Linked DNA regions of Homo sapiens: region 1 is linked to region 2. Evidence: promoter capture Hi-C in human tissues and cell types (Jung and others, 2019). All regions are on one chromosome and are shown on one strand. The core of a region is centred on a gene start or on the middle of the fragment in contact, and the rest is flanking DNA. Distances in the headings are between cores, read along the strand shown. Region 1 has its middle 10 kb from the start of DPPA3. Region 2 holds the start of APOBEC1 (apolipoprotein B mRNA editing enzyme catalytic subunit 1).

Region 1 (6,146 bases), core at 79-2,578, 54 kb after region 2:
CCTTTTGTGTTTTTAGGGAAGCTTCATTAGGTAGGCATGATTGATTACATCACTGGCCATTGGTTTATCAACTCAACCTTCAGCCCCTGTCCCTTCCCCTGGAGGTCCCGGAATGGGAGTGAAACTTTCAACCCTCCAATCACTTGGTGGTTTCTCCTGGCAACCTGCCCACATCCTGAGGGTATCTTGGAGCCCCCAGCAAAGCAGTCACCATTAGCATACAAAAGTTATCACTCCAGAGATTTTGAAGATTTTAGGAGCTATATGACAGGAAATGGTGACTAAGAACAAATATGTTTTATAATATCACAGGGAGAATTGGAAAGGATATCTGCATGATATGTAATAACCCAAGAAGATGCTATCCAGTGATTTCTTTGTGGTTTTTGTTTTGTTTTTTGAGATGGGGTCTCACTTTGTTGCCCAGGCTGGAGTGCAGGACCACACTGCCAAGTTTGGTCATCAGAAGTTACCCCACTGAAGAACTAAATTTAACATGGTCTACCAGCAAGGACAAATGTGGGGCAGATTGAGCATTGGTTATATTTCTTTTTTTTTTTTTTTTTTTTTTTTTTTGAGATGGAGTTTCACTCTTGTTGCCCAGGCCGGAGGGCAGTGGCGCAATATCAGCTCACTGCAACCTCTGCCTCCCATATTCAAGCAATTCTCCTGCCTCAGCTTCCTGAGTAGCTGGGATTACAGGCATGTGCCACCACACCCAGATAATTTTGTATTTTTTAGTACAGATAGGGTCTAACCATGTTGGTGGTATCGAACTCCTGACCTCAGATGATCTACCCACTTCAGCCTCCCAAAGTGCTGGGATTACAGGCATGAGCCACTGTGCCCGGCAGAGCATTTGTTATAACTTACAAATCGTTCCTAGTAGCAAAGCTAACTTTTATTATTTTTCTGTATGAGCTTGAAAATCACTGACTAGTTAAAAAAGGCAACTTATTTTTATTGCAATCATGTTAAATTTGTAAATTAATGAAAACATTAATTCTACATGTCACATGTCCTTTCGTATTCTTTTGAGATGCAGTCTCGCTCTGTCACCAATGCTGAAGTGCAGTGGTGCCATCTCTGCTCACTGCAACCTCCACCTCCCAGGTTCAAGCGATCCTCCTGCCTCAGACTCCCAAGTAGCTGGGACTACAGGCGTGTGCCACCACGCCCAGCTAATTTTTGTATTTTTAGTAGAGACAGGGTTTCACCATGTTAGCCAGACTGGTCTCGAACTCCTGACCTCAGGCAATCTGCCTGCCTTGGCCTCCCAAAGTACTGGGATTATAGGCATGAGACACCGCGCCTGGCTAGTATTTAGGTATATTTTTAAACCTTTCTATAATAATATCTTCCTTTCATGTATTTCCTGCTGAGAGCATCAGTTCAAGTTGCCCTGAATCTTTATGCTCCCAGTTTACATTTATTGAGTGCTAGGCATTATTCTAAGGATTTTACGTGCATTAGCTTATTTAAACCTCAAAACTTCTGAGATAGGTCACTTTCGGTGTCTTCATTTTACAGAAAAAAAAAAGCACAAAAGTAGTGAACTTGCTCAAAGTTACATAAGAAGTGGCTTATCCGAGATGGAAGTCAGCTAAGCCAAGTCGGTACTTTCTTCTTTTTTTTTTTTTGAGATGGAGTTTTGCTCTTGTAGCCCAGGCTGTAATGCAATGGTGCAATCTCGGCTCACTGCAACCTCCGCCTCTTGGGTTCAAGCAATTCTCCTGACCTCTCCCCGTGTCGGCTTCCCAAAGTGCTGGGATTACAGGCGTAAGCCACTGCGCCTGGCCCAAGTCGTACTTTCTACAGATATCTTCCTCTTCAGATTATATTATGGTGTGTTAAAATATTGCCATTACATTTTTCAACTGGTTGTAATATATGAAAGTTGTTTTTTTTCTATATTTACTTATTTGAGCCAGGGTCTCTCTCAGTTGCCCAGGCTGGGAGTGTAGTGAGGCTTGGCTCACTGCAAACTCCACCTCCCGGGCTGAAGCAATCCTCCCACCTCAGCCTTCTGAGTAGCTAGAACTACAGGCATGAGCCACAATGCCCGGCTAATTTTTTGTATTGTTTGAGGAGACAGAGTTTCACCGTGTTGCCCAGGCTAACGCTGTTAATTTCTCTATTTGCTGTTCACTCAACATTTTTTGTTTTACTTTAAACTTTTTTTAAAAAAATTTCAAACTACATAAAGTTGCAAGCTTAAGCTCATAAACCTGTGTGTACATTTTACCTAGATACAACAATTGTTAGCATTAGCCACATTTCATTTAACATTCTATATTTTCTCTTTTTAAACAGATATTTGAGAGTAAATTTCAGATAACACTTCATCCCAAAATAGTTTGTGTTTTCTTAGAACAAGAATATTGACTTATATAACCACAGTAGAAGGATAAAATTCAAGAAATTTATGGCCAGATGTGGTGACTCATGCCTATAATCTCAGCACTTTTGGTGGCTGAGCCCAGAGATTTGCTTGAGGCCAAGAGTTCGAGACTAGCCTGGCAACATAGTGAGATCCTAGTCTCTACAAACAAAAAATAAATTAGTCAGGTGTAGTGTTGGGGGCCGGGGGGAAGATGTGGAAGGGATAGGAAGCGGGAAAGGGGTAGGAAGGGATAGGAAGGGAGGAAATGGGCTAGAGGACCCCAGGGGTTCAAAAGGCAACTTATTTATTTATTTATTTATTTATTTTGAGGCAGAGTTTCGCTCTTGTAGCCCAGGCTGTAGTGCAATGGTGCAATCTCGGCTCGCTGCAACCTCCGCCTCCTGGGTTCAAGCAATTCTCCTGCCTCAGCCTCCCGAGTAGCTGGGATTACAGGTGCCTGCCACCTCGCCTAGCTAATTTTTGTATTTTTAGTAGAGACGGGGTTTCACCACATTGGCCAGGCGGATCTGGAACTCCTGACCTCAGGCAATGCGCCCACCTCAGCCTCCCAAAGTGCTGGGATTACAGGTGTAATCCCAGCACAGGCACCACGCCCGGCCCAGAGTTTATTTTTGTATTTCTGCTGGCCCACGCAGTCCAGCCCAAAGGGCCTATGGCCCAAGGCCCCACAATCAGGCCCCAGCGGTCACCAGCTCTGGTCTTGGACCAGCCCTTGGTGCCCACCTGTACCCCCACCTCACCCATTTGGTCACATGCACTGGTTGTCACTTTACTACAGCTCATTCCTTCCCAATAAAAGTTTCTGTGACTTAAAAAATATACATATATTTTTCTATATGATGTTAGATAGGGGTCCTACTTAATTCTTTTGCATATGGTTATCTAGCTGTCCAAGCAACATGTGTTGAAAAGACCATTCTTAAAAAAATAAATAAATAAATAAAAAATAAAAATAAAAAAAGACCATTCTTTCCCTATTGAGTTGTTAACAATCAATTGACTATTAATGTGAATGTTTATTTTTGAATTTGCTTATTACATTGATCTATACATTTGTTTATTTATTTATTTATTGAGATGAAGTCTTGCTCTGTTGCCCAGGCTGGAGTGCAGTGGTGCGATCTTGGCTCATTGCAACCTCCGTCTCCTGGGTTCAAGCGATATCCTGCCTCAACCTCCCGAGTAGCTGGGACTACAGGTGTGTGCCATCACGCCGGGCTAATTTTTGTATTTTTAGTAGAGACTGGGTTTCACCATGTTGGCCAGGCTGGTCTTGATCTCCTGATCTCAGGCCATCCGCTCACCTTGGCATCCCAAAGTGCTGGGATTACAGGCGTGATCCACCTCACCTGGCCTGATCTATATGTTTGTTTTTATGCCAATATCACACTGTCTTGGTTACTCTTGCTCTGTGGTACATTTTGAAATCAGGAAGTGTGAGTCTTCCAACTTTATTCTTCTTTTTCAAGTTGTTGAGACTTTATTAATTTAAAATATTATTAGGCCGGGCAAGGTGACATAAACCTGTAGACCCAGCTACTCCTGAGCTGAGGAGGGAGGATCATTTGAGGCCAGGAGTTCGAGGCTGTAGTGCCCTATGATCACACTGTGAACAGCTGCTGCACTGCAGCCTGGGCAACATAGTGAGGCCCCTTCTCTAAAAATAAATTAAAAATAGGCTGGGCACAGTGTCTTACGTCTGCTCTCCCAGCACTTTGGGAGGCTGAGGCAAGAGGATCACTTGAGCCCAGGAGTTTAATGCCAGCCTGGGCAACATAGCTAGACCTCATCTTTACAAATAATAAAAAAAATTAGCTGGGTGTGGTGGTGTGCACCTGTGGTCCCAGGTACTTGAGAGGCTGAGATCACGGCCCTGCTTGGGCAATAGAGTGAGACCTTGTCTCAAAAAATAAAAAATTGTTATAAGGATACTTTGGTTTGATATATCACTTATCAAATTTGTGCTGTGCCATAATGAGATTTCTCATATGCTTGTGGGCTTTTCTCTATTCTTTTGAATTCCTTATAAGATTGAGGCCAGGCACAGTGGCTCATGCCTGTAATTCCAGCACTTTGGGAGGCTGAGGCGGGTGGATTACCTGAGGTCAGGAGTTCAAGACCAGCCTGGCCAATGTTGTGAAACCTCATCTCTACTAAAAATACAAAAATTAGCCGGGCATGGTGGCGGACGCCTGTAATCCCAGCTACTCAGGAGGCTGAGGCAGGAGAATCGCTCGAACCTGGGAGGCGGAGATTGCAGTGAGCTGAGATCACACCACTGCACTCCAGCCTGGGCGACAGAGCAAGACTCCATCTCAGGAAAAAAAAAAAAAGAGAGATTGAAAATTAAGTTTATCTTAAGATCCATTATTTTTCAAAACAGTGAGAGTCTTGGCCAGGCACAGTGGCTCACGCCTGTTATCCCAACACTTTGAGAGGCGGAGGCAAGGCAGGTGGATCACCTGAGGTCAGGAGTTCGAGACCACCCTGGCCAACATGGTGAAACCCCGTCTGTACTAATAATACAAAAATTAGCTGGGCGTGGTGGTGCGTGCCTGTAATCCCAGCTACTCGGGAGTGGGACGCAGGAGAATCACTTGAACCCAGGAGACGAGGTTGCAGTGAGCCGAGATCACGCCATTACACTCCAGCCTGGGCAACAAGAGTAAAACTCCATCTCAAAAAAAAAAAAAAAAAAAAAAAGGTGAAAATCTAGTAATAAATATCAGGAAGAAATGGTGTGTGTAACTTGCTAAATGAGAGGTGGTAGATGAGATCTTTCCTATTTCCTGGTTACCAGGACCCATAGTCACATTTTAGTTTCAGAGTAACTCCAGCTCAGTTTCCTTCCTGCAGCGTTTGCTAAGGGACACCGTTTTGTAAGATCAGACACAAGAACGTTTTTCACTATCAAAAGTAGGCTAGCGATAGGATAAGAGAGTACATTTGGGAGAATGCCGACCTTATGTTACTGATTCCTATCTGCTTTATCTTTTTTTGGGAAAGGGCAGGGCATTTTATATGTACCCCCTCCTCCTTGCAGGATCAGATGTGACCAAAGTATCTTTGCCCACAAATAAAACTGGAGCTGGTGATTACATCTAATCTAATTGCTGAGCCATTGAACCAGCAGAGAGCCTGATAGCCAGGCCTGATGCTGCCGGTTGGTGAGAAAGGAGCGCAGGGTGATGCTAGGCAGAGTGTCTGCAAACAGCTGGCATTCCCACCATTTGGTGACGCAAGTACAGTTCAGAAAGTGGGTGGAACACAAACCATCTTGTAAGTAACCACCCATGACCTTCCCCCAACAAGGGACTGCTGGATGAGAATTCCCCAAAAGCAAAAGGTTGTGGGGATGGAGTAAAAGTTTAAGCCTCAGTTCCATTTTTATGACAAAGGACTGGGCAGAGACCAACACCCATAGAGCTCTCTAAAATCCAATCAATGCAACCCCATGAAACAGCCAAGTTTTAGGCCATTGCCACAGAGAGGAAACTGATGGCTGGTCAGTGTTGAGAATCCAAAACCACCCCTGACTATCACTGGAATGGGAGAGCTTTGAATCAAGTATAATTCAAACATTTAAAGTGAACATTTACACGTCAAGTATATATTTTATTACAAATTACTTTTTCATTATAGAGTATTATATTTCTAAATTCTAAACTTAATAACTGAAAGGTTTTTTTAATTTTTTTCTTTTTATTCATCATATCCAACCCCAATAAACTGGTTTTTTAAA
Region 2 (6,049 bases), core at 1,554-4,053:
CATCCCACGCTCCTGGCCAAACCTTAACTCGCAGGTGCTATTTTTGAACAGAGAAGAGTCACAGGCTCTGGAAGACACTTCCTTTAAAACAGAGCATGCTTTACCCTAGGCTGTGTGTGTACCTGTTTGTGTGTGTTACTTTTTATGCATTTGCACTGGATGGTAGAGGAGTTGTAGAAAGGACTTGGGCATGGCATGGTTTTTTTGCAGAGAGTGGTTCTAGCTGGGGAGAAGAACTAAAATGAGAAATTAGCCAGATATCTAGGAAATAGGACGAAGTCAGGAAACACTATTCCAAGTGTGACCTGAAGAACAAATCTCTTACTTTTAAAGGAGGAATGGGGGATTTGAGCATTGGGAGGAAGGAGGAAGGGGGTGGCTGGCACGTTGGAATGAGCTCTTCTCAGATCTTAGTGCAAATTGGGGCCCTTGAACCAGTAATCTACTCCGAGGGAGCCTTACATAAACAGAGGCCACATCATAGGAAAAAGGCATTTGATGATGGGAAGACACTTTCTCTGAAAGAGCTGAAGCAGCAGTGAGAAGTTCAGAAAGGGACGGTGAGACATATGCTGTGTCTACACTGATCAATATTATTCCTGGGATGCAAAGACAAGGATACCAGCCACATGACTGGGGACAGTTTGAGGTATAGAACACACCACCTTCATAAGAAAAGTCCAGGGAAGGTATTAGCTACTACAATCAAATAATGTGTTTGGTCTTTCCCCCAGTATGCCACTTAAAAAAGAATTTTTTTTTTTTTCCCGAGATGGAGTTTTGCTCTTGTTGCCCAGGCTGGAGTGCAATGGCGCGATCTCGGCTCACTGCAACCTCCGCCTCCCTGGTTCAAGTGATTCTCCTGCCTTGGCCTCCCAAGTAGCGGGATTACAGGCATGTGCTACCGTGCCCAGCTAATTTTGTATTTTTAATAGAGACGTTGTTTCTCCATGTTGGTCAGGCTGGTCTCAAACTCCCTACCTCAGGTGATCCGCCTGCCTTGACCTCCCAAAGTGCTGGGATTACAGGTGTGAGCCATCACACCTGACCTTAAAAAAGAATTCTAACAGATGAAGAACATAAAGGAGAAAATAAATTGTTACTTCAACTCCAAACTGATATCTATATTACCTTCTGCCCCATCACACTCACACTATTGCAATAGTCTTCTAACTGGTCTCCTTGCTTCCAGTCCAAAACCCATCACATGTCAAGTAAATGTGTCTAAAGCACTATTTTAGTCATATCTCTGTGCTATTCATAAATTCTCCAAAGATATTCCCTCTACCATAAAGAAAAACTTTCATTCCTTGAGCCTGGCATTCGAAGTCCTCTATAGTATAATAACACTTCAAATTTGCTTTCTGGTCTTACTGCAAATTGTTTACATAAATTTTTTGTAGCCTAACCAGTTTATTCATTATATTCCAGACACAAGTCTCTATAAAAGCTTTTAAATTCTGTTCATCAATAGGATTCAATCAACCTGGAATCTCCTCTTCTTTGTCGATCCAAAGTCTGCCCTTCTGGCCTGGCATGGTGGCTTACACCTGTAATCCCAGTACTTTGGGAGGCCGAGGCTAGTGGATCACTTGAGCCCAGGAGTTCAAGACCAGCCTGAGCAATAAAGCAAGACCTCATCTCTACAAAAAAATTAGCAGGGCTGGTGGCCCATGCCTGTTGTCCCAGCTACCCAGGAAGGTGAGGCGGGAGGATCTCTTGAGCCCAGGAGGTCAAGACAGCAGTGAGCAGTGATCACACCACTGTACTCCAGCCTAGGCAACAGGGCGAGTCTTAAAAAAAAAAAAAAAAAAATTTGGTTAGGCATGGTGGCTCATGCCTGTATTCCTAGTACTTTGAGAGACCAAGGGTGGAGAATTGCTTGAGCCCAGGAGTTCCAGACCAGCCTGGGCGAAGTAGTGAACCCACCCGCTAGTCTCTAAAAACAAAATAAGATAAAAATTTTTTTAGGTCTACACTTCTCTTAGAATCCAGCTCAAATCCTAGCTCAGCTGAAATTACTTCCTTCAGCCTGAAGTGTTCTTCCTCTCCCATGCATTTTTCTAACACTGACTGTGCACAAATTTATCAATTAGTTATAGTCAATTCATTTGTCAATTAGCACATTGTTCTCATGCTATCACGTCTGTTGTTACCTTAAACTGTTATTTAAACAGTTGTACTTTTACTTAACTTTTTTTTTATTTTTGTGAGACAGAGTCTTGCTCTGTTGCCCAGGCTGGAGTGCAGTGGCGTGATCTCAGGTCACTGCAACCTCCGCCTCCTGTGTTCAAGTGATCCTCCTGCCTCAGCCTCCCGAGTAGCTGGGACTACAGGCATGCGCCACCATGCCTGGCTAATTTTTGTATTTTTAGTACAGATAGGGTTTCACCATGTTGGCCAGGCTGGTCTCAAACCCTGGGCCTCAAGTGATCCACCCTCCTTGGACTCCCAAAGTGCTGGGATTACAGGTGTGAGCCACAGCGCCTGGCTACTTAATTTTTTATCATGGTGAAACAAACACTGATTTGGTTAAAGTCACTTGGAGATGTAAATATTTACTAATAATAAACCATCTTATTTAAGACTAATATATTAATCAATAATAGGGAAGTTTGAAAACACCCACAGATGCAAGAATCAGCAGGACACACACACACACACACACACACACACACACACACACACACACACACACACACCATTCTTGCATTGTTCAAGAATACTTGCCAAGCCCCCGGATCCATTTTACCTTTCTCAGAAGTCATGGTGCTCTGTCTCTGGACTTCCTCCTCTGGAGTCATAAGTTGTGCTGATTGTTCCTGGACTTTGTTGCTTCAGGTGTGCCCACTGCCACCTGCTTGGGCAGAGGATGACTCATTCCCGCATCTCAGGCAGTTATGGGAATCTGAGCTGTCTGTACAAACAGGGGGCCGACTGAGAGGGACATTATCGTGGGGATTTGCATCTTTAGTGATGAGAAAGCCTATGATGCAAATGACATGAATTTTGTAGGGTGGATCACTGGGTACCAAATTCCAAAGTTCTTCAATGACATCTGAATTTGGTAAACTTTCTCTTTCTTTAAATAAAGATTAAGGCAAGGTGGATCCATCATTCTTTTTTGTTTTGTTTTGTTTTATTTATTTATTTTTCATTATCTCCTACTCTGCATCAAGGATGCATCATTCTTTTTTTTTTTCTTTGAGACGGAGTTTTGCTCTTGTCGCCCAGGCTGGAGTGCAATGGCACAATCTTGGCTCACTGCAACCTCTGCCTCCCAGGTTCAAGCGATTCCCCTGCCTCAGCCTCCCGAGTAGCTGGGATTACAGGCGCCCAACACCACGCCCGGCTAATTTTTTGTATTTTTAGTAGAGACGGGGTTTCACCATGTTGGTCAGGCTGTTTTTGAACTCTTGACCTCAGGTGATCCACCCGCCTCGTCCTCCCAAAGTGCTGGGATTACAGGCATGAGCCACCGTGCCTAGCCTAGGATGCATCATTCTTTAATGGAGAGATGAGAGGAAAAATAAAGTTAAGAGAGACTTAATCTGTAACTATAGCTTGAAAATTTTTATGTTATCTGGTGAGCACACTGTGGCCTTGGCTTTCAGCTGTTATTCACCTATTTCCAACTTCCTCTCATTTTGCTCTCTGTCCTACATCCGTGTTGGAGAGGGGAGGGGAGCTATTAGATACAAAATGAGAAGGACCTTGGCCTCTGAGTCAGCTAATTTGTGTACAGGTCTTTGGTGCTCTCTTCATCCTTGAATCTAAGATTAAGTGTGTGGCCAAGTCCACTTCTGCCCTTTTTTTTTTTTTTTGAGACAGAGTTTCGCTCTTGTCACCCAGGCTGAAGTGCAATGGCGCGATCTCGGCTCACTGCAACCTCTGCCTCCCAGGTTCAAGTGATTCTCCTGCCTCAGCCTCCCAAGTAGCAGGGATTACAGGCACCCACCACCACACCAGGCTAATTTTTATATTTTTAGTAGAGACAGGGTTTCTCCATGTTGGCCAGGCTGGTCTCAAACTCCTGACCTCAGGTGATCCACCCGCCTCAGCTTCCCAAAATGCTAGGATTACAGGCGTGAGCCACCTCTCCCAGCCACTTCTGCTTTTTTATCCCCCTTGAAAAAGTAAATGCCATACTTCCCTATGCCATTGCTCTCTGTTGCCTGAACCCTGGGTCAAGTTCAAGCCAAAAATTCCTCTGAGTCTCAGCACTTACTCCTAGAATTGAGGTCACTTTTTCAAGGCCTAAGTCTCCCTCTAGTGTCTCAAATCTAGAACTCCTGAACTTTGAATCTCAAGGCCCCATGAACCTGAAACCCGAATCCTACATACAAGACTTTACTTAGTTATGAAAGTCAACCTGGAGCCTCCATGAGATAAAGCAGGTGTTTCGACAGGGGCAGACCAGTGTTTTGAAGAAGGGGCAGAAATCCCACATCATCAATAAAGGCCCTTCAGAGACCAAGTTTTTCTAAGTTAGGTAAGAGTAGAATCATTGTAGAATAAAAGTAGGTTAGGCCAGGCGCAGTGGCTCGCGCCTGTAATCCCAGCACTATGAGAGGCAGAGATGGGAGGATCACCTGAGGTCAGGAGTTCAAGACCACCCTGGCCAACATGGCAAAACCCAGTCTCCTAAAAATATAAAAGTCAGCTGGGTGTGGTGGCAGGTGACTGTAATCCCAGCTTCTCGGAAGGCTGAGGCATGAGAATTGCTCGAACCCAGGAGGGAAGTTTGCAGTTAGCCGAGATCTCACCATTGCACTGCAGCCTGGGCAACAGAGTGAGACTACGTCTAAAAAAAAAAAGAAAAAAAAAAAAAGGTAAGATAATAGCCATCAACGATATCCATGTCCTGATCCCTGGAATCTGTTAAACATATGAACTTAAGTGCCAAAAGGGTCTTTGTCGTTAATTAAAAATCTTGAGATGAGAAGACAATCCTGGATTATGCAGGTGGGCACAGTCTAATCACAGGGTCCTTATAAGAGGGAGGTAGAAGAGTCAGAGTCAGGATGCGAAATGGAGATATGAGGATGAGAGCAGAATTCTGCTTGCTGGCTCAAAGGGAGCCACGATTCAAGGAATGAGGAAAGCCTGTAGAAGCTGGAAAAGGCAAGGAATGGATTCTCCCCCAGAGCCTCCAGAAGAAATGCTACCCTGATGACACCTTGATGTCAGCTTAGTGAGACCTGTTTTGTACTTCAGACCTCCAGAACTATAAAACAATGTGTGTCGTTTTATACCATTAAGTCTGTGGCAATTTCATGAAGCGGCAATAGGAAACTGATATGGTAGGACATGCTCCCAGGAAGTAAACATGCAGCAGCCAAGAGGGTGCAAAACTTGGGTTTGTTTTCTACTAGAATGCCTATTGAGCGCTTCGTCCATGTTCTGTTTTGTTTAAGAAAACTTGGAACTATGACATATGACAGACTATCATGTGGTTAATTATTTGTAAGTGAGGTCAAAGATAATCAAGGATGAAATGTAGCTATTCAGTTTAAGTCTGTCCTGCACCTGAAAATTTATGAATTTTGAAAAATGTATACATACACTTATGTAACTACTCCAGTCAAGATATTTAAAATTCCCATCACCCCAAAAGTTCTTTTGTTTTTTTGTTTTTTTTTAAGACAGGGTCTTCCTCTATCGCCCAGGCTGGAGTGCAGTGGCTTGACCTTGGCTCACTGTAGCCTCAGCCCCCCGGGTTCAAGCCATTCTCATGTCTCAGCCTTGCAAGAAGTAGCTGGGATTACAGAGATGCACTACCATGCCCAGCTAATTTTTGTACTTTTAGTAGAGATGAGGTTTCACCGTGTTGGCCAGGCTGGTCTCGAACTCCTGACCTCAAGTGATCCACCCACCTTGGCCTCCCAAAGTGCTGGGATTACAGGTGTGAGCCACCATGCCTGGCCAGCACCCCCCAATTCTGTGTGTTAGCAGCTATCCTCCTACTCCTAGTCCCAGGCAAATACTGCTCTTTCTGTCTCTATAGTTTAGTTTTGACTATTATAGAACTTCATACAAATGGAATCAT

The links. The method cuts DNA at HindIII sites, captures the fragments that hold promoters and counts their contacts. A contact is called where the count stands out against the background at its distance.
Region 1: a contact is called between a fragment that was not itself captured here and the fragment with the promoter of APOBEC1 in region 2, in 2 of the 25 tissues and cell types used here (pancreas and spleen).

The regions. Positions count from the first base shown.
Region 1 is chr12:7,718,541-7,724,686 of GRCh38, forward strand. No RefSeq gene overlaps it. Among named protein-coding and RNA genes, the nearest start is that of DPPA3, 10 kb to the left of the region's middle. The HindIII fragment of the contact is 6,179 bases long and covers 1-4,418 here.
Region 2 is chr12:7,663,105-7,669,153 of GRCh38, forward strand. It overlaps APOBEC1 (apolipoprotein B mRNA editing enzyme catalytic subunit 1), which reads right to left and starts at 2,804. Exons shown (of 5, transcript NM_001644.5): 1 at 2,753-2,804. The coding sequence starts at 2,768. RefSeq lists an enhancer at 3,509-3,803. The HindIII fragment of the contact is 14,417 bases long and covers 1-6,049 here.